7 separate regions of the Homo sapiens genome follow, and all the other regions are linked to region 7. The links are contacts of gene promoters, found by promoter capture Hi-C in blood cells and fetal thymus (Javierre and others, 2016). All regions are on one chromosome and are shown on one strand. The core of a region is centred on a gene start or on the middle of the fragment in contact, and the rest is flanking DNA. Distances in the headings are between cores, read along the strand shown.

Region 1 (3,088 bases), core at 404-2,903, 1.1 Mb before region 7:
AGCTGTTAGTCCTTGTGAGCAGAGCTTCCCTTCAACCCTAGATTTTAAGTTGAAGGTTAAACTGGATAACTTTCTGGCTTACTTTCCCTCTGATGACTCCTCCCAACCCAAGAAGGTCCTCACTATGCAGGTTAAAAACTCTGCCATTGACAGATTTATAGAGACTGGGACTGTGCAGGAAATGCTGCTCCAGAATCACTCCCTAGCATTCATCAAGCACATCTTGTACTGCAGGTGGGCAGAGCTGCAAAGCATTGAAGAGATTATGCAAGGATGACAAGATGTCCACAACCATATTTAAGTACACATAGTTCTATCCATGGTCAGATGCTGTCAATCACTGGGGAAACAGTGTTCCCATCTGAAACGGTTTGGCTGTGTCCCCACCCAAATCTCATCTTGAATTGTAATCCTCATAATCCCCATGTTAAGGGAGGGACCCAGTGGGAGGTGATTTGATCATGGGAGTGGTCCCCCCATGATGTTCTCATAATAGTGAGTGGGTTCTCACGAGATCTGATGGTTTTATAAGTGTTTGACATTTCCTCCTTCACACACTCACACTCTCCTGTTGCCTTATGAAGAAGATGCCTGCTTCCTCTTCTGTCACGACTGTAAGTTCCATGAGGCCTACTCAGCCATGTGGAACTGTGAGTCAATTAAACCTCTTTCCTTTATAAATTACCCAGTCTCAGGTACTTCTTTATAGCAGTGTGAGAATGGACTAAAAGAGGAATTGGTACTGCGGAGAGTGGGGCCCTGTTATCAAGATACCTGAAAATGTGGAAGCAACTTTGGAACTGCATAACAGGCAGAGGCTGGAACAGTTTGGAGGGCTCAGAGAGAAGACAGAAAGATGTGGGAAAGTTTGGAACTTCCTAGAGACTTGTTGAATGCTTTTGACCAAAATTCTCATAATGATTTGGACAATGAAGTCCAGGCTGAAGTAGTCTCAGATGGAGATGAGGAACTCAATGGGAACTGGAGCAAAGGTCAATCTTGCTATGCTTTAGCAAAGAGGCTGGTGGCATGTTGCTCCTGCCCTAGAGATCTGTGGAACTTTGAACTTGAGAGAGTTGATATGAAATTGGAACTTATGTTTAAAAGGGAAGCAGAGCCTAAATGTTTGGAAAATTTGCAGCCTGACGATGTGATAGAAAATTAAAAACCATTTTCTGGGGAGAAATTCAAGCCAGCTGCAGAAGTTTGCATAAGTAATGAGGAACCAAATGTTAATTGCCAAGACAACGGGGAAAATGTCTCCAGGGCATTTCAGACATCTTGGCAGCAGCACCTCCCATCACAGGCCTGAAGGCCTAGCAGGGAAAAATGGCTTCATGGGCCAGTCCCAGGGTCCCCCTGCTCTGTGCAGCCTCAGAACTTGGTGCCCTGTGTCCTAGCTACTCCAGCTCCAGTTGTGGCTACAAGGGGCCAAGGTACATCTCAGGCTGTTGCTTCAGAGGGTGCAAGCCCCAAGCCTTGGTGGCTTCCACATGGTGTTGGGCCTGCAGGTGCATGGAAGTCCAGAATTGTGGTTTGGGAACCTCCACCTAGATTTCAGAGGATGTATGGAAATGCCTGGATGTCCAGGGAGAAGTTTGCTGCAGGGGTGAAGCCCTCATGGAGGACCTCTGCTGGGGCAGTGCGAAGGCTAAATGAGGGGCTGGAGCCCCCACACAGAGTCCCCACTGGGGCACTGACTAGTGGAGCTATGAGAAGAGAGTCACCATCTTCCAGACCCCACAATGGTAGATGTACTGACAGCTTGCATAGTACACCTGGAAAAGCCACAGACACTCAATGCCAGCTGTGAAAGCAGCCAGGGCAGGGGGCTGTATCCTGCAAAGCCACAGGGGCAGAGCTGCCCAAGGCCATGGGAGCCCATCCTTTGCATCGGTGTGCCCTGGATGTGAGACATGGAGTCAAGGGAGATTATTTTGGAACTTTAAGATTTAATGACTGCCTCACTGGATTTTAGACTTGCATGGGGCCTGTAGCCCCTTTGTTTTGGCCAATTTCTCCCACTCAGAATGGAAGTATTTATTCAATGCCTGTGCTCCCATTGTATCTTGGAAATAACTAACTTGCTTTTAATTTTACAGGCTCCTAGGTGGAAGGGACTTGCCTTGTCTCAGATGAAACTTTGGACTTTTGGGTTAATGCTGAAATGAGTTAGGACTTTGGGGGACTGCTGGGAACAAAAGATTGTGTTTTGAAATGTGAGGACAGGAGTGGTGACTCACGCCTGTAATCCCAGCCAAGGCAGGCAGATCACTTGAGGTTAGGAGTTTGAGACCAGTCTGGCCAACATGGTAAAACCCTGTCTCTACTAAAAATACAAAAATGAGCCAGGTGTGGTGTTGGGTGCCTGTAGTCTCAGCTACTGAGGAGACTGAGGCAGGAGACTTGCTTTAACCCGGGAGGTGGAGGTTGCAGTGAGCCGAGATTGTGCCACTGCACTCCAGGCCGGGTGACAGAGTGAGACTGTCTCATAACAAGAAAAAAAAAAAAAGAAAAAGAAAAAGAAAAAAAAAAAAAGAAATGTGAGGACATGAGATTTGGGAGGGGCCAGGGCGGAAAGATATGGTTTGGTTTTATCCCCACCCAAATCTCACCTTTAACTGTAATCCCAATAATCCCCATGTGTTGAGAGAGGGACCCGGTGGGAGGTGATTGGATCATGGGGGCAGTTTCCCTCATGCTGTTCTCATGATAGTGAATGAATTATGAGATCTGATGGTTTTATGAGTGTTTGACATTTCCTCCTTCACACACTCATATTCCCTCCTGCTGTTCTCATGATAGTGAATGAATTATGAGATCTGATGGTTTTATGAGTGTTTGACATTTCCTCCTTCACACAATCACATTCCCTCCTGCTGCTTTGTGGAGAAGGTGTCTGCTTCCCCTTCTGCCATTCCCTTTCTGCCATTCCCCTTCTTCCATGATTGTAAGTTTCCTGAGGCCTCCCCAGCCATGCAGAACTGTGAGTCAATTAAACCTCTTTCCTTTATAAATTACCCAGTTTTGGGTATTTCTTTTCTTTTCTTTTTTTTTTGAGATGGAGTCTTGCTCTGTCACCCAGGCT
Region 2 (2,903 bases), core at 177-2,676, 1.1 Mb before region 7:
GATTGTCACCATGAGATTGTGGCTGATTACTTCCTTGAAACATTCTTTTCTCAAAATTGTTTTCAATGATTGGTAAGATTACATCTTCAGTTTCAAGTTCCTTGTCAATAAGTAATCAGATTGCAGCGTTTGACATAGTTTTCACAGCACTCTATTATTAACCAGACATTTGCTTAGAGACTTACTTTTGAGTTTTTGGTACTCCTAAGAATGGCTGAGTTTACTCATTTTTATAATTTCATTACTCTTTAATCAATTCTCATCTCTAGGAGACTGAGTACTAGGAGACTCTAGGAGACTGAGTACTGAGTACAAAATGCCAAATAAAAAATCACGTAGAAAACTGCTCCTATATTACACTCCATTATGAAATGATTGATTATATATAAAGAAAAAATGACCGGGTGTAAATATTATTTTATTTCACAATGTTTATTGAGCATCCACTAAGTGCTAGGCACTCCTCCAGGTGCCAGGATAAAAGAGTGAAACAAACACATGCCACAGCTCTGCCTTCATTAGGGAGCATGGTGATGTTTGTCTTTGATCATGGTATTTTGAGTATTTGAGTATTTTGCGCTCAAGTTTTACTGAAACTTTCAACAGCTTACAATACGTTTGCATTGTTTTTAAAACAGAGTAATACTATGAAAATGATTTTTCAAAGTGTGAAGCTGAGTTTAAAAAGCGGAATGTTCATGAAACAATGTTAATCTCATTTTTTAAAATGCAACTTTACGAATGAAAAACATCTAAGGAAATTTATCACAGAATATGATTAATGGTCACGGCTGGGTGATCGGACTGTGGATAAGATTGGTTTCCTTTATTACGCTTTAACAGTCTAACCAAGTTTTCTACCATGAGATTCAGAGACGTTTGTAATGAAAGAATACATTGATAAAGGTCCATAGAACCCCAGTAACACGTGGAGAAAGATGACAAAACCAATCAGAGAAACAGAAATACCAGTTGCTAGGGTACCTAGCAGCCTCACCGAGGAAATGCCAATTTGAAAAACAGAATGCTATTGTCCACTGACTGAGTTTTCGCGAGGGACCACATCCCCACCTCACCCCCGCCTCCAGGGCTTGTAAGGCACTGACAACCAAAGAACCAGCATGTTCTTTCGGAGAAGGCTTCGCGGGATTTTTTTTCAAGCACGAAGGGCGGGGCACGAGGCAAGCAGGGCCGCGCCACCGGCCAACACTGTCACCTGCAGGTCATGAGAGCCGAGCGCCACCAACCCCGGAAGAAAATACATATCCGCTGCGTTTCCGCCCTGAGCCCCGAGATCTTGGCTGAGAAAGCAAAGCGTGATGACCGTGGGGACCAGAGCTCGGACTGGTACCGGCCGGAAAGGCCCCGACGAACTTACCGTACAGGGCAGCCTCCCATAGTCCTGCCCTCGGAACCATAGCAACCGCGCAGGAAGTTCCTGCGCCGCCGGAAAAACGCAGCCCGGAGGGCGGGGCTGGCCAAGGATTGACGGGCTCTGGGCCTGCGCATCGGAGCCCGGGGAGGTCGGCTCCTGTTTCCTCTGGGTCCGCCGCAGGCTCCCTTCCCTGCAGTTGGGAGCTGACGCCTGAGGGACGATCCGCTGAGGGTCAGGCTCTGCTGCGCGACTGCCCGAGCCGCCCCATGTTCGAGACCTGTGCCAATCCCATGGACATTCTCCTCCCACCCAGCCAGCCTCTGAACACGCTTCTCACGTGGCACACGCCCTGTCCTCGCAGCCCTCACACCGCTGATCCTCCTCGGCGACCTCAGCGCCCCCGGGGCTGACCAGGCCGTGGCCGGCGCCTCTCCGTCCTCGGGGGGGTCTCCTTCCCCCCACTTAAGTCTCTTCTGCCCGCGGTCATGCCCTGGGCCTCAGGAAAGACCGCGCCCCTCCACGATGTCCATTTCTTGCATCCCCCATTCTCATAACGGGCAGCACCCGATCGTGTCCTAACAGCTACCTCTTCCAGTGCCCCAGCATCCACAGCCTTTAGCCTCAAGGAGGCCTCCTCTCCACTAACCACAACCGCGTTCCTCACCATTCACCTTCCTTAGCCAGCTTACCCAAAGCTATTAACTCTCTCCTCCCTACTCTCCTGGCAGTCCCCCCGCCGCCAAGTAGACAAACAATGTACACCCTCCACAAGTGTACCTTCTCTGTCTAGTCTACTTACAAGATCCCTCCACAAGCACCAGCACCCAATTTTCTCATGATATTCACTGATATTCCCTTGAGAAAATAGAAGCAATCAGAGAAGAATTCACACCACTTCCCAACAGCAGTAGACCTGCACTTATAATCTTGGCTGCTTCCCTGGAGGAAGAGACAGGATCCTACTTGAGACCAGGCCCTTCACCTGGATCCTATGCCTTCCACCTTCTTAAGGGATCATCCTTTGCAGTTATGCTTTCTCCTGAATTATCATGTTCCTCTATCTGTATTTATTATCTAAAAAGTTGGCAAAGGGAGTGCTAGAGTTTAGGCTGATCCTGGTTCTTGCTGTTAAGTAGGTGATCTCACAGGGGGCTGCATTCCCTGAGGATGGAAGGGAAGATGTGGAAAGTGGCTGATTCAAGAACTAAAGATCATGCCATAAAGGAAGCCTAACCCAGCTAGGGGCTAGGTGACCCTGCAGCCGAGGCTGTGGAGTAGACAGCCCTGGACAGGGGACTTTTAGACTGCCATGTTTGTCGCTGCATTGTGCAATTTTAACAAGAATCCTGCTAAGTCAGTTTAGTTAGAATTTCCCATCATCAATATCTCAGTTAGGTTCCTCATCCCCCAGGTGATGTCTAGTCACCCTGGCCCACCTTCACCAACAATCCTGTTAGTTCAATTTAGCCACAATACCCCCTTACCCGTGGTGTTTCCTCTTAGTAATTTTCCGTCCATTGCTCCCCAC
Region 3 (3,058 bases), core at 559-3,058, 1.4 Mb before region 7:
CTCTAGGCCAAAGCACAATCATTGCTTACCTAGATGACTACAAAAGTCATAAGCACTCTCCCTGTTTCCAAGACAACACCTAATCCACACTCCATATAGCAGCTAGGTGTTCTTTCTAAAACACAAACCTATGCTGTATCCTTGCCTAGAATTCTTTAGTAACTCCTGGGTGCTCTCAGGATCAACACCAAAGTCCTCATCTTGGCATTCTAAACTTGCCAACTTGCCATGATTTGGAAGGGGTGGGGAATTTGAGATGCCAGAAGTAGAAGAAAAGGAGGGGCTATGTCTAGTGTGGATAAGGGAGAAAATCTAGGAGGCAAGAACATGGTGAACTGATATCACACACTTGGAGAAAGCAATAATTCAGAGAAAGAGAAAAGACAGGAAAACAGAAGCCTGCCTTGAATATGCAAGAAATTTGTGTGTTTGTCTATCTTGAATTATCCATGGAACACAGGGATTCATTATATGTTATTTACATAGTAAAAGGTGACCACATAAAGCAGAAGACTTGTGTCCATTTGAATTACATTTATATGTGGAAAGGCACTGAATATTATTTCTGCAACTAACAGTTGTGCTGAATTTTATTATGGTTTCTAATAACTTTTTAGTTGATGCTCTTGGGTTTTCCAGGTCTGCATTTATATATTCAGTAATTAATGATGATTTGTCTATTTCCTATTATTTTACATCTTATTTTGTTCTCTTGAACAGATCCAATTGGTTATGTGAATTTATTATGTGATAGAGGTGCCATTTCAAAGCAGAGAGGGAAAAGATGGATTAGTTTGCACATGATGTAGAGGTAAGAGACTATGATTTTGAAGAGTAATCAAGCTGAATCCGTATAGAAAATAAATTTTGAAATGATCAAACATCTAAATGTAAATAATAAAGCCACAAAAGTGCTTGAAAAAAAAAACGGGGTTTGTTATAGGAGTGTGAAAAGCATCTTTAAGCAAGCAGCAGAATCCAGTTGTGATGAAGGAAAAATGGATATATTTGACTACATAATAATTAAACATTTTTGTTTGGCAAAAATTATCATAAATAACATGAAAAATATTTGTAATATGTGACATGTACAGGAGAGACATTGCTGGCGGGAATGTTATCCATTTACTTTTTAGGAGTAAGTTGACAAATTTTGCATCAAAATGGAAGACTTTTTTGTAGCATTTGAGCTAGCAAAAAATACCATAAATAACAAAAAGTGCACCAAGCAATCTAAATGTACATGTGTACTGGACTGGTTCAATAAATTATGGGACATCTATGCAAGAAAAGATCATGCAGCTGTTTAGAAAAATGTGCACTAACGGAAAGATGTTTTATATATAACTGGAAAAAAACAGGTCGCAGAACAGAAGGTATGTATAGTGTACCATTTGTCGGAGAGAGAACCTGAATAATTAGTATACGAATAGAAAAAAAATCTGGATAGCAAAATGTTAATAGTGGTTATTTCTGGGAGATGAGTGGCCTTTCATTGGTGTGTTATATATTACTGCATTGTTTGAATTTTTACAACAACAACAAAAGAACAACATATTACCTTTGTAATAAGAAAAAATGAAGATATAAAAATAAATTCAATGAATGACTTGCTTTCAGGGGGCGGTTTGAGTTGGAAGAGCTTCAGACTGAGCCTGGTACAGTGGCATAAACATGGGCTTTGGCGTCAGACAGCCCTGAGCGGGGCCCCATTGCCCCACCCCCGAGGAAGGCGAGGGGGGGTGGCAGGGGGCTGCGGAAAGGGGCTGGGCTGGGTTGGGCTGTCTGCAGCTCTAGTCCAGGAGGCTGAGACTTCGAGAGGGACTTAGAGAAGGCAGACGCATCCCGAACTCGCTGGAGGACAAGGTGAGGGGCGTTGATATTGGGGTTTTATGGAGGTCAGACAGTGGTTCCAGACCCCTCGAACCCATAGCCAGGCAGATGAGCAATTCTTACTGCACCACTGCAGCTGAAGCAGAGGTGACCTGGAGTGGGGTGTAGGCAATGAGGACGACTGAGAAAGTAGTAGGCTGTACAGACTGGGAGCAGAGACTAGCGGAGGGAGGAGGGGAGAAAAACGGGGAACCAGGAATGTTGGGAGGGGGACGAGGAATACAAGGAGGGAGGGGAACACTGAGGGGGAGTGAAGATCCAGAGAAGAGAATCGGGGATGCAGAGAGGGATTAAGGAATACTGAGGGGCAGGGTGTGCAAACGTAACACGGAGGAGGATGTAAGAAATGGGAAGAAGGAATTCTGGAGTAAATAGGAAATGTGAGGTAGGAATAGGGAGTAGGGAGCCAGGCTAAGGGAATACGGAGGGGGGCATAAGGAATGAGGAGCAGGGAGCGGGGGAGGGGCAGACAGGCTGGGACGGAGGCCCCCTAGGGAGGCGGAAAGGGGCGGGACCACTTCCGGCCTAGAGAGGGGAGGGCAGTCTCCGAGTTTCGGAGGGGCTTGGAGTGAGTGGACGCACTCGGGAATTGTAGGAGGACGAGGTGAGCAGCCGGGTCGGCTTTTGGATGAGAGCCCCGCTAGGGGTCGGCCCCACCCTCTGGGATCTGGAGAAAACCTGCCTTAAGGACCGGATCGTACCGGATCCATCCGGCTGGGAAGGGAGGGGACTGGACCCGGTTTGGCCGGGCCCAAGATGGAATCACTAGCTCAGTATTTATTTGAGGAGGGGGTGTAATAGGGAAGGGGCGGAACCAAGATGCGCCTGTTTGGAGGGGGGCGTGTTAGGAAGAAGGGCGGGGCCAAGAGACACTGGACTCTGTAGGGCGTGAGTAGGGGAGGGGCCGGGTCCACCAGACACTGCGACAATTTTGGAGGAAGGCTTGTTGGGCAGGGGGCGGGACCGAATGGTACTGCGGACCTGGAGAGGGGCGTGTGTTGGGGCAGAGTGCCAGACTGAGACCACGACCATTGCGCATGCGCACTATGTTTCGCTAGAAAGGGGCGTGTTGAGAAGGGCCAGCACTGAGAAGAGCCAGCTGCTGAATGCGCATGTGCACGGTGGACATCAAAGAAAGGGCTCGTGCTGGGAAAGCGGGCGGGGC
Region 4 (3,262 bases), core at 340-2,839, 1.4 Mb after region 7:
TTCCACAAAGTATTACAGACAAATTATTAGAATCAATAGAAGAGTTTATACGCTTGTAGGATAAAATCTTAATGAACAAAAGTCAATTGCATCCTATTTATTTACCAGAAACAAATTTAGACAGTAAAAATTCCAAACAGGATTTGCACAATATGAAGTGCCTAGGACAAAAAAGTTGCCTTTTGGGAAAAATATAAAGTATTACTTGGGCACATTAAAGGAGACCTTATTAAAAGGAGAGACAGACCAAAGCCATGAACCAAACTTTCAATATTGAGAAGTCAAATCTAAAATATCAGCACAATATGAATTAGAACCCCAAACTAGCTGTTGGTTGAAGTTTTTATGATGAGTTTATAATTTAAATGGAATTGAAATGGGCCAAAAGTAGCCAAGACACTTTTGAAGAAAGATGTAGAATTTACTGCCTTATCCAAATATCAGAATTGACTATGGATCTGTAGTAATTAAGACAGTGTGATATTTCAAACAAATAGGGCCGAGCACTTAATAGCGAGTATAGGAACTAGCCCACATATGGGTAGATACTTGATTTATGGCACTGTAAATCAGTTGGCAAAAGGCAGACTTTTCAATAAGTGGTTCACTGAGAAAACTGGATATTCAAACAAATAAATAAATAAATAAATAAATGGAACCCCACTCAACACAATATACAAACATCAATTGCAGGTGGATTAAGACCTGACTGTGAAGGGCAATAGCATACGTATTTTGGAAGAAAATATAGAAAACGCTTTCATGGCCCAGGGTTTCTTAAAACAGAAAAGATTTCTTAAAACAGATTTCTTAAAACAAAAACACACTAACCATCAGGAAAAGAATGATGAATTTGACTATATTATAATTAAGATCTTCTGTTCACAAAACACAGCACAAAGCAATGGGAAATACAAACAGAACAAGGGAATATTTTGGCCACAGGTATGGACTAGTATTTAAAATATTTAACAGGCTCATTAAGTCAGTAAGTACTAGATGAACAATAGAATAGAAACATGGGTTAAAAGAGGTAAATTTGAATAGGCCTTCTTCGGAGTAGACACTCCAAAAGGCTCATAAACACGAAAATGTGCTAAAGCTTACTAGTAATTTGGGTATTGCCCACCAGTAGACTGGCAAAATTTAAATTCTGGCAATACTTGGTGTGGGTGAAGATGTGGAGCAGTAGGGGCTCTCTGTGCTGCTGGTGGGATTGACAGCTTGCCCAATCACTACAGAGAACAATTTGGCATCATCTAGTAAAGCTCAGGATATCCATACCCTATGGCCCTGTGATTCTATTCTTGGATATATACCCTAGAGAGATTTTTACACATGTGTCCCATGAGAAATGTGCAAGAATGTTCATAATAATCGCTGAAAAATAGAAGCAATCCTAATGTTCATCTGCTGTAGAATGGAGTGGTATAATCATACCATAATCACTTTGCTATAAGCATATGCTGGAACGACAGTCGATGGAGACAAAGGATCTACTTACTTATAACTATTATGAACAACATGGATGAGTCTCAAGTATAATACAGAGTGAAAGAAACAAGTTATAAAAGGAAACTTGCCGTATGATTCCATTTATACAACTTCGTATCAACTCTATTGTTTACGGATGCGTACAAAAGTGATAAAGCTATAAAGGAAAGCAGTGAAATGATTATTACAAAGTCAGGGCAATGACTATATTCATATAGGAGAGTGTGGGTTGTGATTGGGAGGAGTACAGCGGCTGTATTCTGGAAGGCTGGCAGTGGTCTATTGCTTGACCTTGGTCCTGGTTACACAGGTGTCTGCTTTTGTAAAATAATCTAAACGATACAAATATGTTTTATGCACTCTTCTATACCTCAGATTTGAAAAATGCTTCCACCAGAAAAAGTAATAGAAAGAAAAGTATGTGGAGTAGACATTTTGATGAGGTTCAAATAGTTATGGATGAATAGCTTGATTTTCAAGAGACCAAGTGTCCACTGTCATTAAAAGAGGGCGAGAGAGCTGGGAGTATTTAAACAACAGGTTACACCCCGCTCCCCCACCACCACCAATCTAGTCATTACTCTAAGCTTTCTTATCTCAGATATTTCACCCTATATTTGTGTCAATTCCCAACTCAGTCGTAACGGACAAAATGAAGGATTGTCATCATCATTAATAAGATCATTAGGCACCACAGGCCCAGCAAGCCTGGGCCACCACACTTAAATGTGAACAGGTACACCAGGTTGATTGGACAAGATCGTCTGTGCCTTTTACTTGGCAGAATCCATTGCAGTGACTCAGGATTTAACCTAAACACATTTAACTGAAACTCCTGCCCAGAGACCTCCACGTGCTGGAGAAGGCAGAGTAAACTGAGGAATGAATGCCCTCATTGTGCTGTGAGAGCAGACATGAAATTTATCACAGTACAACCGATGGTGGAAGGGCAAAAGTTGGTTTAGGTTGTGCACTGTATAGGGAGAAGCCAGGAGAAGGTTGGGTTTTTTCCAGATTTCAGTGTAAATTGTTTCATCCTCCAGACTTTGAATTTCTAGGCTGAAGAGTGCTAACCTGTTTTGGCCGCATCTCTCACTCATTCTAATGTCTGTATCAGCAAGACAAAATTTGAACTATGCGGCAAATTGTACCGAAGACTTTGCTCAAGATAATTGTGAATATGGAAGTTGTCCCGCGGGGAGGTGGGAAGGGGAAGGACATTTTCAGCAGAACTGCCAGCGCTATGGTGGTTTAATGCTGACACAGAGACAGTTTTTTCTCTCAGGAATTGTCTTTCATCCATCAGTCCAGCCAGCCAGCCAGCCAGCAAATTTTAACACACAGAAAGTACGAAGCAACATATCTAACACTGGGAGGGGCTGGGGTGTGTTTATTTGGGTATATACAATGAGTCATGGATTAAAATTGCTTCCAGCGGATAGATACCTAGGTGTTCCACAGCATTACTGAACAAGCTGTCGTCATTTCCCCATTACCTCAGAAGACCCCCTTAATTACTTACTTATATTAACTGTAGAACGTATTTATGCATACCAGGCTCTACCTCTGGGCTTTCTATTCTGTTCCAGAGACCCAGTACCAGAATATTTAAATCACTGTGGCGTTAAATACGTTTTAATATCTGATAGGGCCAGTTTCTGCGCATTGCACATTTTTTTTTCCCCTTTCAGGAACGTGTTCAGGCCCGCGGCAGGGGGCGGGATCGCGCCTCCTCCTCGGCTCTGGTTCCAGCCGAGCCTCTCGGACG
Region 5 (3,256 bases), core at 125-2,624, 1.1 Mb before region 7:
AGCTAGTATAGCTTAAGTATAGTCGTGGGGGTTTGCTGTCCACTGGAGGAAGCTACCACAAGGGCTCCCCTAGGTAACAAATTCTCCACAGCCTAGCCTCTTCATGTAACATGTACAGAACTGTTGTATTTTCTTGGCCCATCAGGGGTGTTTTTTGGTGGATATGTAATCACAATCGCATCATGGTGTGCCCTACTCAGCTCAGTGACTCTGGTGTGGGCATGTAAGAATAGGGAATAATGGAAATATAGCATGTGATACAGAATTTGTAGCATATGGGACTTTTCAAAGCTACTTACAGAGACAGAATCAAGTTTGGATTAGTAGAGCCATTGCTTATTAATGTCTTTCAGTGCTTGTAAATTGTCAGTCACTCCCCTAAAGTCACTCCTCAGAGAACGTAGACTCCTCCAGGGTGGATTCCTCTGCCTCTTTTGATCACTGTTGTATGCACAGCAGCTAGCACAGTGCCCAGCACACCATAGGCCATCACAGGTAACTCTGGATTGAATTAATGGATCTCCTCTCCCAGGAGACTGTGAGACCCTTTGAAGCAGCCTCGTTGTCTGGGGTAAATACCAAGGTTCTTGGTCTCATGGCCAAGGAGATCGAGATCGCAGACACACACACAGACAGGGTGAGTTTGGAGAAGGAGTTTAATAGGCAAAAGGAAAGAACAGCTCTCCATCACAGAGAGGGGTCCTGAGCCAGTTGCCAAGTTGTAGTAAAAATGTCAGGGTTTTTATAAATGGGCTAGCAGCGAGGAGGGGGCTTGTGAAGAGGGGATGTCTTATCCTCCTAGGGCCTGACAGTTTAGTTAGGACGAGGTGTGCTATCTGTACAGAGCAGAGTTTTTGTTTTGTTTTGTTTTTTTTTTTTATCAGCTCTTATCCCATTCCCTGACCACATAGGCTGACTCTTAGTCTGTGTTTCTTTGTCCTGCTTATCTGGGAGGGAGAGTTTCTGTGTCTGTTTCAGTACATCTTCTTGCAGCTGCAGGCATCCCCTGGAGTGTGTTTTTAGCTTCTCTAGCTTAGTGTGCCTAAAGGGAAAAGAATGTCCTTATTAAGGCCCACTGTTTTACTGGGGCCCATTGTATAAGTGTGAAGTTTGATAATTACCCAGGAGACTTCCCCCACCTCCTTCTGTGTCTGAGCTGTCTTATCTGTGTTTTACTGTCTGCTCTTTCAGGTTGCTTGTTGTTAGAAGAGAAGTGATTTCTTTGAATTGCATAAGGTTAGAAAGGGAGCTATTTTTGAGCTGCTTTTTGTTAAAAGGAGTTTTCTGCCAGGGACTGGCTTTATCATGTCTACCTAAATAATTTCTTTCTGCCTCCTATGACACCTTGAGGGCAAGAACTATGTTTAATTGGTCTTTGCAGATCCAGCATCAGTTGGCTGGATGAAACCTGCTAAATGTCACTGAGTTCCTGTTTATTGAATTAACTAACTTCATTTGGAAGTAAGACTGACAGAAACCTCCCCTCAATCTTCCCATTCCAATCCAGAGTTTGTATATTTATGTTATCCTGCAAACACTTCTAGTCAGCTGTAAGATTCAGGGATGACGATGAGAACCTGATTAACTTTTCCGTGAACTCCACACAAAAGATGACATAATTCTTAGCAGAGTATGACTTAGGATAGCATTTCCTAGAACCCTGCAATTCAAGAGTCGCTTTTACAGTTGCTGCTTTCCCTGCACTTCAGTTCTACTGTTTTATGATGATGCCATACTTAATTTTAGAAAAATCTCTTGGCATAAAACAAAATGATACTCTGAAATATTTTAAAACAAAGTGCCAAACAGGCGTAAGTTATGAGACTTTAATCATTTGTGCTATGTAAACCCATCATGTATCTTCTGCTGGTACCCTCCAGACAAAGAACGTGAGGAACACCTTGAACAAAGTCTCACGGAGGGAGAAAACATACACCACGGAGCACATTGGGGCATCTCATTAATATGGTGCTAGAATGTACTTCTTAGAATCTTTTCTATAGGACTTGGGCTTATGTTAGGTGATTTGCAGGAGGACTCAAAAAGTGGGGCTTTTCTCTAATTGAACACCGTCAGGAAGTGGGGGATAATTCTATGATTAAGTATTGTTAATGTAAAAAAAAACAGGATTATAAATTTGGAAAAAGGAGACTATTTCTTATAAAGGGTTACAGCCTGCAAGGTGGCCTTCTCACAGGCTGGGAAGCATAGCCTCTGGCAAAGATCAGAGAGGTGCACTTCAAAGAAGGAGGGGTTGGGGTAAGGTGCTTTATTCTGAACAGATTGGCTAAATATACATATTCATCAGGTTACAGAAGAAGCTAGAAATATTCATGAAGGTGGTCCTGATGCATGCTTATTGAACAAACGTATGTAACATATGACCCATGTTAACCTTGTGGTGAAGATGTTAACATTTAAACATATTACAATTAGGCCCTATATGTCAAAAGGTCTTCTCAGGATGCAAAAGCACTCAAGTGGGAAGCCTCTGTAAACTGACCAGAACCAGTCCATGATTGGTGGTCTTCTTATCTGGAGAAAGTTCCTGAAATCAGTCTCTTGTCCAATCAAAGTTGTCATTATGGCTTGTGAAACAGGAGGTCAGTTAGTATCTGGTGATAAGCTACAATTATTTTAATATTGCTTATCTCTAGACCAGTGCTCCTTTGGCTGCTAGAGAAAAAGAAACACCTTGTAGCAGTTAGAACAGAGTTTGTTACTCTTGTCTGGCATGGCTTTAGGTCTTGTTTGTAGTTTGGTATCTTGTTGCCACAAAGAGTCCATTCTGTCAGTCTTATGATCTCTGTTTTAACATTAATGCTGGGAAGCTGCTGTGTCTTAACCATAAAAGGGAGAGGGGTTTAACGGGGCATGTCTGACTTCCCTTCCCTTCATGGCCAGGAGCTCAGCTTTGTTACTGAGAACCTTCATTTTTTTAGAGGTTGTTTAATTATTTTTTCCTCTCTCTCTCTTTTCTCATTTCCCCAGCTCTCCATTTCCTACTTAGTCCATAGAAATACAAATATAACCCTTCACTTCCCTCTTACCAGACATTCCCTACAGGACAAGTTCTTCAAACTATGTGCTGCTCCAAGACAGATCTCTTCTCCAGAGCTGACAGTTGATTTGCAGACCAAAGCACCATGGAACTTTTACCTCCAGGGGGCTGCCTTGGAACTTCCATCTTCCAGGGGTTGCCTTGGAACTTTCATCCACCAGGAGGGCTTATTGAAAGCATGAAAGCTTAGCCACT
Region 6 (2,865 bases), core at 290-2,789, 1.3 Mb before region 7:
CATCTTGCTGAAATGAGGCATGGAGACCAGATTTGAGAAAAAATAATGAAAGGGAATGAACAAAACCTCTGAGAAATATGGGACTATGTAAAAAGACCGAACCTACAATTGATTGGAGTACCTGAAAAGGATGGAGAGAATGGAACCAAGTTGGAAAACATACTTCAGGATTTTATCCAGGAGAACTTCCCAAACCTGGCAAGATAGGCCAACATTCAAATTCAGGAAATACAGAGAACACCACTAAGATACTCCATGAGAAGACCAACCCCAAGACAGATAATAATCAATTCTCCAAGGTTGAAATGAAGGAAAAAATATTAAGGGCAGCCAGAGAGAAAGTCCAGGTCACTTACAAAGGGAAGCTGATCAGACTAACAGCAGACCTCTCAGCAGAAACCCTGCAAGCCAGAAGAGAGGGGTGGGCAATATTCAATATTCTTAAAGAAAAGAATTTTCAACCCAGAATTTCATATCCAGCCAAACTAAGCTTCATAAGTGAAGGAGAAATAGGATCCCTTTCAGACAAGCAAATACTGAGGGATTTCATCACCACCAGGCCTGCCTTGCAAGAGCACTAAATATGGAAAGGAAAAACCAGTACCAGCCACTGCGAAAAAACACCAAAATATACACTTGATCTTAGCCAAAAGGCTGAGAAGCAATAAACACACCAAAATATAAAGACCAACGACACTATGAAGAAACTGCATCAATTAGTGTGCAAAATAACCATATAGCATCAAGATGACAGGATCAAACTCACACATAACAATATTAACCTTAAATTTACATGAGCTAAAAGCCCCAATTAAAAGACACAGATTGGCAAATTGGATAAAGAGTCAAGACCCATCAATGTGCTGTATTCAGGAGATGTGCAAAGACACACATAGGCTCAAAATAAAGGAATGGAGGAAAATTTACCAAGCAAATGGAAATAAAAAAAAAGCAGGGGTTGCAATCCTAGTCTCTGATAAAACAAACTTGAAACCAACAAAGATAAAAAAAGAGAAGGGCATTACATAATGGTAAAGGGGTCAATTCAACAAAAAAAGCTAATTATCCTAAATATATATCCACCCAATACAGGAGCACCAAGATTAATAAAACAAGTTCTTAGAGATCTACAAAGAGACTTAGACTCACACACAATAATAGTGGGAGACTAACACCCCACTGTCAATATTAGACAGATCAACAAGACAGAAAATTAACAAAGATATCCAGGACATGAACTCAGCTCTGAATCAAGTGGACCTAATAGATATCTACAGAATTCTCCACCCCAAATTAACAGAATATACATTCTTTTCAGTGCCACATGGCACTTATTCTAAAATCAACCACATAATTGAAAGAAAAACACTCCTCAACAATTGCAAAAGAACTGAAATAATAACACACTGTCTCTCAGACCACAGTGCAATCAAATTAGAACTCAGATTAAGAAATTCACTCAAAACCGCACAACTACATGAAAATTGAACAACCTGCTTCTGAATGACTCCTGGGTAAATAATGAAATTAATGCAGAAATAACGAAGTTCTTTGAAACCATTGAGAACAAAGAGACAACATACCAGAATCTGTGGGATGAAGCTAAAGCAGTGTTAAGAGGGAAATTTAAAGCACTAAATGCCCACATCAGAAAGCTCGAAAGATCTCAAATCAAAATCCTAACATCACAACTAAAAGAACTAGAGGAGCAAGAGCAAACAAATCCAAAGCTAGCAGAAGACAAGAAATAACTAAGATCAGAGCAGAACTGAAGGAGAGAGAGACATGAAAAACCCTTCAAAAAATCAATGGCTTGGAACCAACCCAAATGCCCATCAATGATAGACTGTATAAAGAAAATGTGCCACATATACACCATGGAATACTATGCAGCCATAAAAAGAAATGAGATTATGTCCTTTGCAGGGACATGGATGAAGCTGGAAGCCGTCATTCTCAGCAAACCAACACAGGAAGAGAAAACCAAATTCCTTATGTTCTCTCTCATAAATGGGAGTTGAACAATGAGAACACATGGACTCAGGAAGGGGAACAACACTCACCAGGGCCTATTGGTGGGTGGGAGGCGAGGGGAGGGAACCTCGATGACTGGTTAATAGGTGCAGGAAACCATCATGGCACACGTATACCTATGTAACAAACCTGCAGGTTCTGCACATGTATCCCGGCACTTAAAGTTAAAAAAAAAAAAGAAAGGAATACTAACAATTTTAATTCTTATTTCAAAATAGAGCATGTCTAGTAAAAAAATTATTAATGACATAAAATAATTGACTAAAACATTTACAAATTGAGTATATATGTGTGTATAGGTAAATCTACACACACATATGTAAATATATACACACATTTTTTCCATAGATCCATAAAACATGCCATAGAGCAATCATTGAGCTTTCATAATCTGTGTCTGCCTTTTGCTTTGTAGTTTGGAGACCCTAAGATTAGTCACACGTAGATTCATATGTTTGATCAGCTAAGTTTTTGAGAAGGGACGTATGTGAAAAAAAATCAGTAGTAAATTGGTCTAGGTAACACGTAGACATCTGTACGTGGATTATTGGAACTTAAGCTTATTGGAACACAAAGAAAGAAGAGGTTATTTCTACTTGTGTTGAGAAAGATGGAGAGACAGAAAAGGCTTCATAGAGAAATGGTTACTTGGGTTGAGATAACACACAAATGAGACCTAATATCCATTAAATCGACAAGGTTCAGGGAAGGATGGTTCTGGTTAGAAGAGATGGCATGTGTAGAAGTATACAACATACATAGGGACATGATACAGCATGGCATAGAGGGAGAAAGCATTTCTTCACTCCAAACTAATGAGAGCCTCCCCTT
Region 7 (2,983 bases), core at 290-2,789:
TTATAGTTTAGTAGGGGGAGGCAATTATACCAACAAATATGTGCCCCGAGGTAGAGAAGGGCACAGAGGAAGCAATGGTCAGTTTTGCCTGAAGAAATTAAGTAAGGAGGGGAGATGACCTTGAGTTAGTCCTTTCAAGAAAGTGGACAGATTCATTGGAAGGACATGCAAGAAAAAAAAAGGTGGACAGAGAGCTTAGTCTATTTCAGTCAGAGAAAGTAAAGCAACCCAAGGCATAGAGATTGGAAACAGCTTGGAATTCCCAGGGATTTGTAATCCAGGTAAAGCCCAGGAGAACAGCAAAATCTCTGCTGCTTGAGAGGCAGACAAAGGCCAGATCACAGCAGGTTAAAGGATGAGTTCCAGGGTGCTGCCTTGGATGTATGGTGGTGCCATTCAGGTAGTTGGTGAACTACAGGAGGAAGAACAGAGTGTTTTGGGGAAAGGAAGGTAGATGAGATGCACAGAAGACATTCAGGCAGAAATATCAACTAAGTAAGTAGACCTATGTGTTCGAAAGTACTGGGCTGAGGCCTTCCGTTTCCTTATTTTTTTAAATAAAGGGCACAGAGAATATAACAGTACCTAGTTCCCAGGGTTGTTATTGGGACTAAATGGGGAAATGTTGAATGTAAAAGCACCTGGCTCAGGGACTTGCCCATATTAGGTGCTGAATACATGGCAGATATTATTATTTCTCCTGTCTCTTTGCTCTTCCTCCCTCTGCTTTGTTTCTTGTCTCTCTTCTTTTTCCTCCTCTTTAAAAGAATTGTGGTAGGGAAGAGGCACTGAAAATGGGCTGTGGTTGCTTGTGACTTCCTGGCCTCCCATTAAAATGAGCTAGAGAGAGACTTTCAGGCAAGCGTAAAGAAATCCTGGAAACATGGCTCCTATCCTGTGGATTCAGCTTTACGGGGATCTTCGCCAATGCCTGGCTGAGAGGCGGTCTCAGGGGGTTGAGAACTCTATTCTTAGAGGTCTGGTATCTGGGAGACTGAGAAAGCCTTTCTTAAGTCTCCCTGCTGGGCCACGCTGTATTCACAGATCATCTTCAACTCCTTCTTCTTCCCCACCTACTCCTTCGCCCTCACCTCCTTGGCTTATCTCTTGCTAGAAAATGCACCAAGCTCCAATCTCCGTTCCTTTTAGCTTCCTCCCTGAGAAGACACTGTGACCTCGCTGTCCTTGTTCGTGTTACCATGGAGAGGTAGGAGGATAAATATCGCTTCCAGTTGTCAGCTTTTTTGTTTTCTCCTTTCCCTCTTAGACAGCCCCCAGCCCCAATCCCAGTACCCGTTTCACCACCCTCCCCTGGAGAATTAGCATAACCGGAGTAAATAGGTAATCAAGCAGTGTGCTTGCAAGCCTTAATTTTGGGACAGATAAGGAAGTGAAATTGATTGGAATTATACCTGCCGCTGCTGGAGGCTGAGGGAGGCGGCCGCCGGAGGCGAGGCCAGCTCTGTCGGCCCAGGGCCCCGCCCCACCCCCTCCTTCCTCCCTCCTCCTTCTCAGCCCCACCCTTCTCCACCTCCTCCCACTTTGCACTCTCCTCTAGCGGCCGCCTGTCCTTTTTAAGGAACTCCACCCTAGGTGGAGTCCTCACGATAGTCACACCTCTCCTTTGGGCCTAGCAGGGCCAGAGAAAGACGGAATCACTCTACCCACTCAGGTTGCCCAGAGAGCACTTTAGGTTCTGACTCGCGTGGGGCGCGAGGTACCCCGTGGGGCAGCTAGGTGCCTCCAAGAAACCCCGCCCCAGAGGACCCGCACGAGTTGCTGCCATTTTTCGCTGAAGCCCCTGCCCTGGGGCTGGTGTTCTTCTCTATGATTCTACCAATCGTCGGCATTTTTTTCCTCCCTTCTTTCTTTTTAGGAAGGCGCTGGGGTGTGCGGCGGCAACGGCGGCGGTGAAGGGATCCTCTTGTGGTATCTCCTCGTGGGTTCCTGTCTTGAAGGATTTCTTCTCCGCCTCAACTTTATGTTCAAGTAGCGCTTTGGGGGTTGGGTTGGTTTTCATAGCCCCCACCCCCGGCCCTCTCCTTTTAAAGGGTGTGTGGAGTTCAGAGGATGGGTGGAGAGCGGGCTTGGCCGGAACTGAATTGGTAGAGGTAAAAGGGGAACGGAGGACCTTAAGCTCTGGCCACTTCGGCCCAGCGAACCCACTTTATTTTTGTCCAAGGAAAAGCTGCAGGGGGGAGGATTCTTTTTAGGAAGTCTACTCTGCCGGCCCCTGATTTTTGGGTTGGATGCTTGAGAGCTTTGTTTCCCTTGTTCCGAGAGTGGCCCAGCTGGGTCTGAATCGACTCCCTCCCCTTTCGACCCCCTCCTCATTTTCCAGCCCGGAGAAATAGGGGAGTGGGGGCCCAAGAACGAGAAGACGAGAACGCGTCGCCCTGCGCTATGTCAGAATGGGGCGGGTGTGAGGGGAACAGCTCTCTTGCGATCAGCTCAGGAGTATGAGCCTCCCGGAGGACGGCATGAGTTCTGGACACTTCAGGAGTCCTCAGCTAGTGACATGGTCGGTAAGTGACTCTGGGACTAATACCCACCCACTCCCACCTCTTTCGTCTAGATTCTATCCCCCTCCCAGTCCCCCTGCTCCCCCCACACACCCCACTTGGGGTTTCAGCAGTGGGGGCGGGAGCGGAAGGTTAAGAACACTATGTGGAATCAAATGAAACTCAAGGGAAAATGACTTTGCTAAAGGGCTGGGCAAAGAAAGGCCAAGAAGGAGAGGAGAGAGCTTGGTGGAAGAAGTGAAAGGGGGCAAGAATGGATGGATTTGTCTAGTCTAGTCTCCCCTGGCTCGGCACTCCCAATACTCCTTAAGCGGTAAGGATTGTCTTTGACTTAACCCCACACAGCCAAAGTCACAACCAGAGAGAACAGGATTCACAAGGCCAAAGCTCCCAGGTAACCCCCTGAAGCCATAGCGGGTACCTAGAGAAGCTTCTGAAAAGAAGGAGGAGGGGACAGTGGT

Evidence for each region. The method cuts DNA at HindIII sites, captures the fragments that hold promoters and counts their contacts. A CHiCAGO score of 5 or more calls a contact.
Region 1: a fragment that was not itself captured here is called in contact with the fragment with the promoter of KLF8 in region 7 in 1 of 17 cell types (M0 macrophages); the score reaches 6.1 in M0 macrophages.
Region 2: the fragment with the promoter of VCF2 here is called in contact with the fragment with the promoter of KLF8 in region 7 in 9 of 17 cell types (M2 macrophages, M0 macrophages, M1 macrophages and 6 more); the score reaches 9.5 in M2 macrophages.
Region 3: the fragment with the promoter of MAGED2 here is called in contact with the fragment with the promoter of KLF8 in region 7 in 1 of 17 cell types (total B cells); the score reaches 5.1 in total B cells.
Region 4: a fragment that was not itself captured here is called in contact with the fragment with the promoter of KLF8 in region 7 in 1 of 17 cell types (M0 macrophages); the score reaches 5.3 in M0 macrophages.
Region 5: a contact is called between a fragment that was not itself captured here and the fragment with the promoter of KLF8 in region 7, in 1 of 17 cell types (naive CD8 T cells). The highest score is 8.6, in naive CD8 T cells.
Region 6: a fragment that was not itself captured here is called in contact with the fragment with the promoter of KLF8 in region 7 in 2 of 17 cell types (naive CD4 T cells and naive CD8 T cells); the score reaches 5.7 in naive CD4 T cells.

The regions. Positions count from the first base shown.
Region 1 is chrX:55,138,181-55,141,268 of GRCh38, forward strand. It overlaps the pseudogene LOC100421179. Among named protein-coding and RNA genes, the nearest start is that of VCF2, 21 kb to the right of the region's middle. The HindIII fragment of the contact is 6,628 bases long and covers 1-3,088 here.
Region 2 is chrX:55,159,759-55,162,661 of GRCh38, forward strand. It overlaps VCF2 (VCP nuclear cofactor family member 2), which reads right to left and starts at 1,427. Exons shown (of 3, transcript NM_001166701.4): 1 at 1,379-1,427. The coding sequence starts at 1,398. RefSeq lists enhancers at 1,090-1,389, 1,215-1,715, 1,716-2,216. The HindIII fragment of the contact is 5,872 bases long and covers 1-2,903 here.
Region 3 is chrX:54,805,937-54,808,994 of GRCh38, forward strand. It overlaps MAGED2 (MAGE family member D2), which reads left to right and starts at 1,809. Exons shown (of 13, transcript NM_177433.3): 1 at 1,809-1,866. The HindIII fragment of the contact is 6,434 bases long and covers 1-3,058 here.
Region 4 is chrX:57,588,782-57,592,043 of GRCh38, forward strand. It overlaps ZXDB (zinc finger X-linked duplicated B), which reads left to right and starts at 3,230. Exons shown (of 1, transcript NM_007157.4): 1 at 3,230-3,262. The HindIII fragment of the contact is 979 bases long and covers 1,101-2,079 here.
Region 5 is chrX:55,120,058-55,123,313 of GRCh38, forward strand. No RefSeq gene overlaps it. Among named protein-coding and RNA genes, the nearest start is that of PAGE2, 33 kb to the left of the region's middle. The HindIII fragment of the contact is 3,739 bases long and covers 1-3,244 here.
Region 6 is chrX:54,888,895-54,891,759 of GRCh38, forward strand. No RefSeq gene overlaps it. Among named protein-coding and RNA genes, the nearest start is that of TRO, 30 kb to the right of the region's middle. The HindIII fragment of the contact is 2,103 bases long and covers 489-2,591 here.
Region 7 is chrX:56,230,817-56,233,799 of GRCh38, forward strand. KLF8 (KLF transcription factor 8) reads left to right here and starts at 1,540. Exons shown (of 6, transcript NM_007250.5): 1 at 1,540-2,525. The coding sequence starts at 2,519. The HindIII fragment of the contact is 3,283 bases long and covers 1-2,950 here.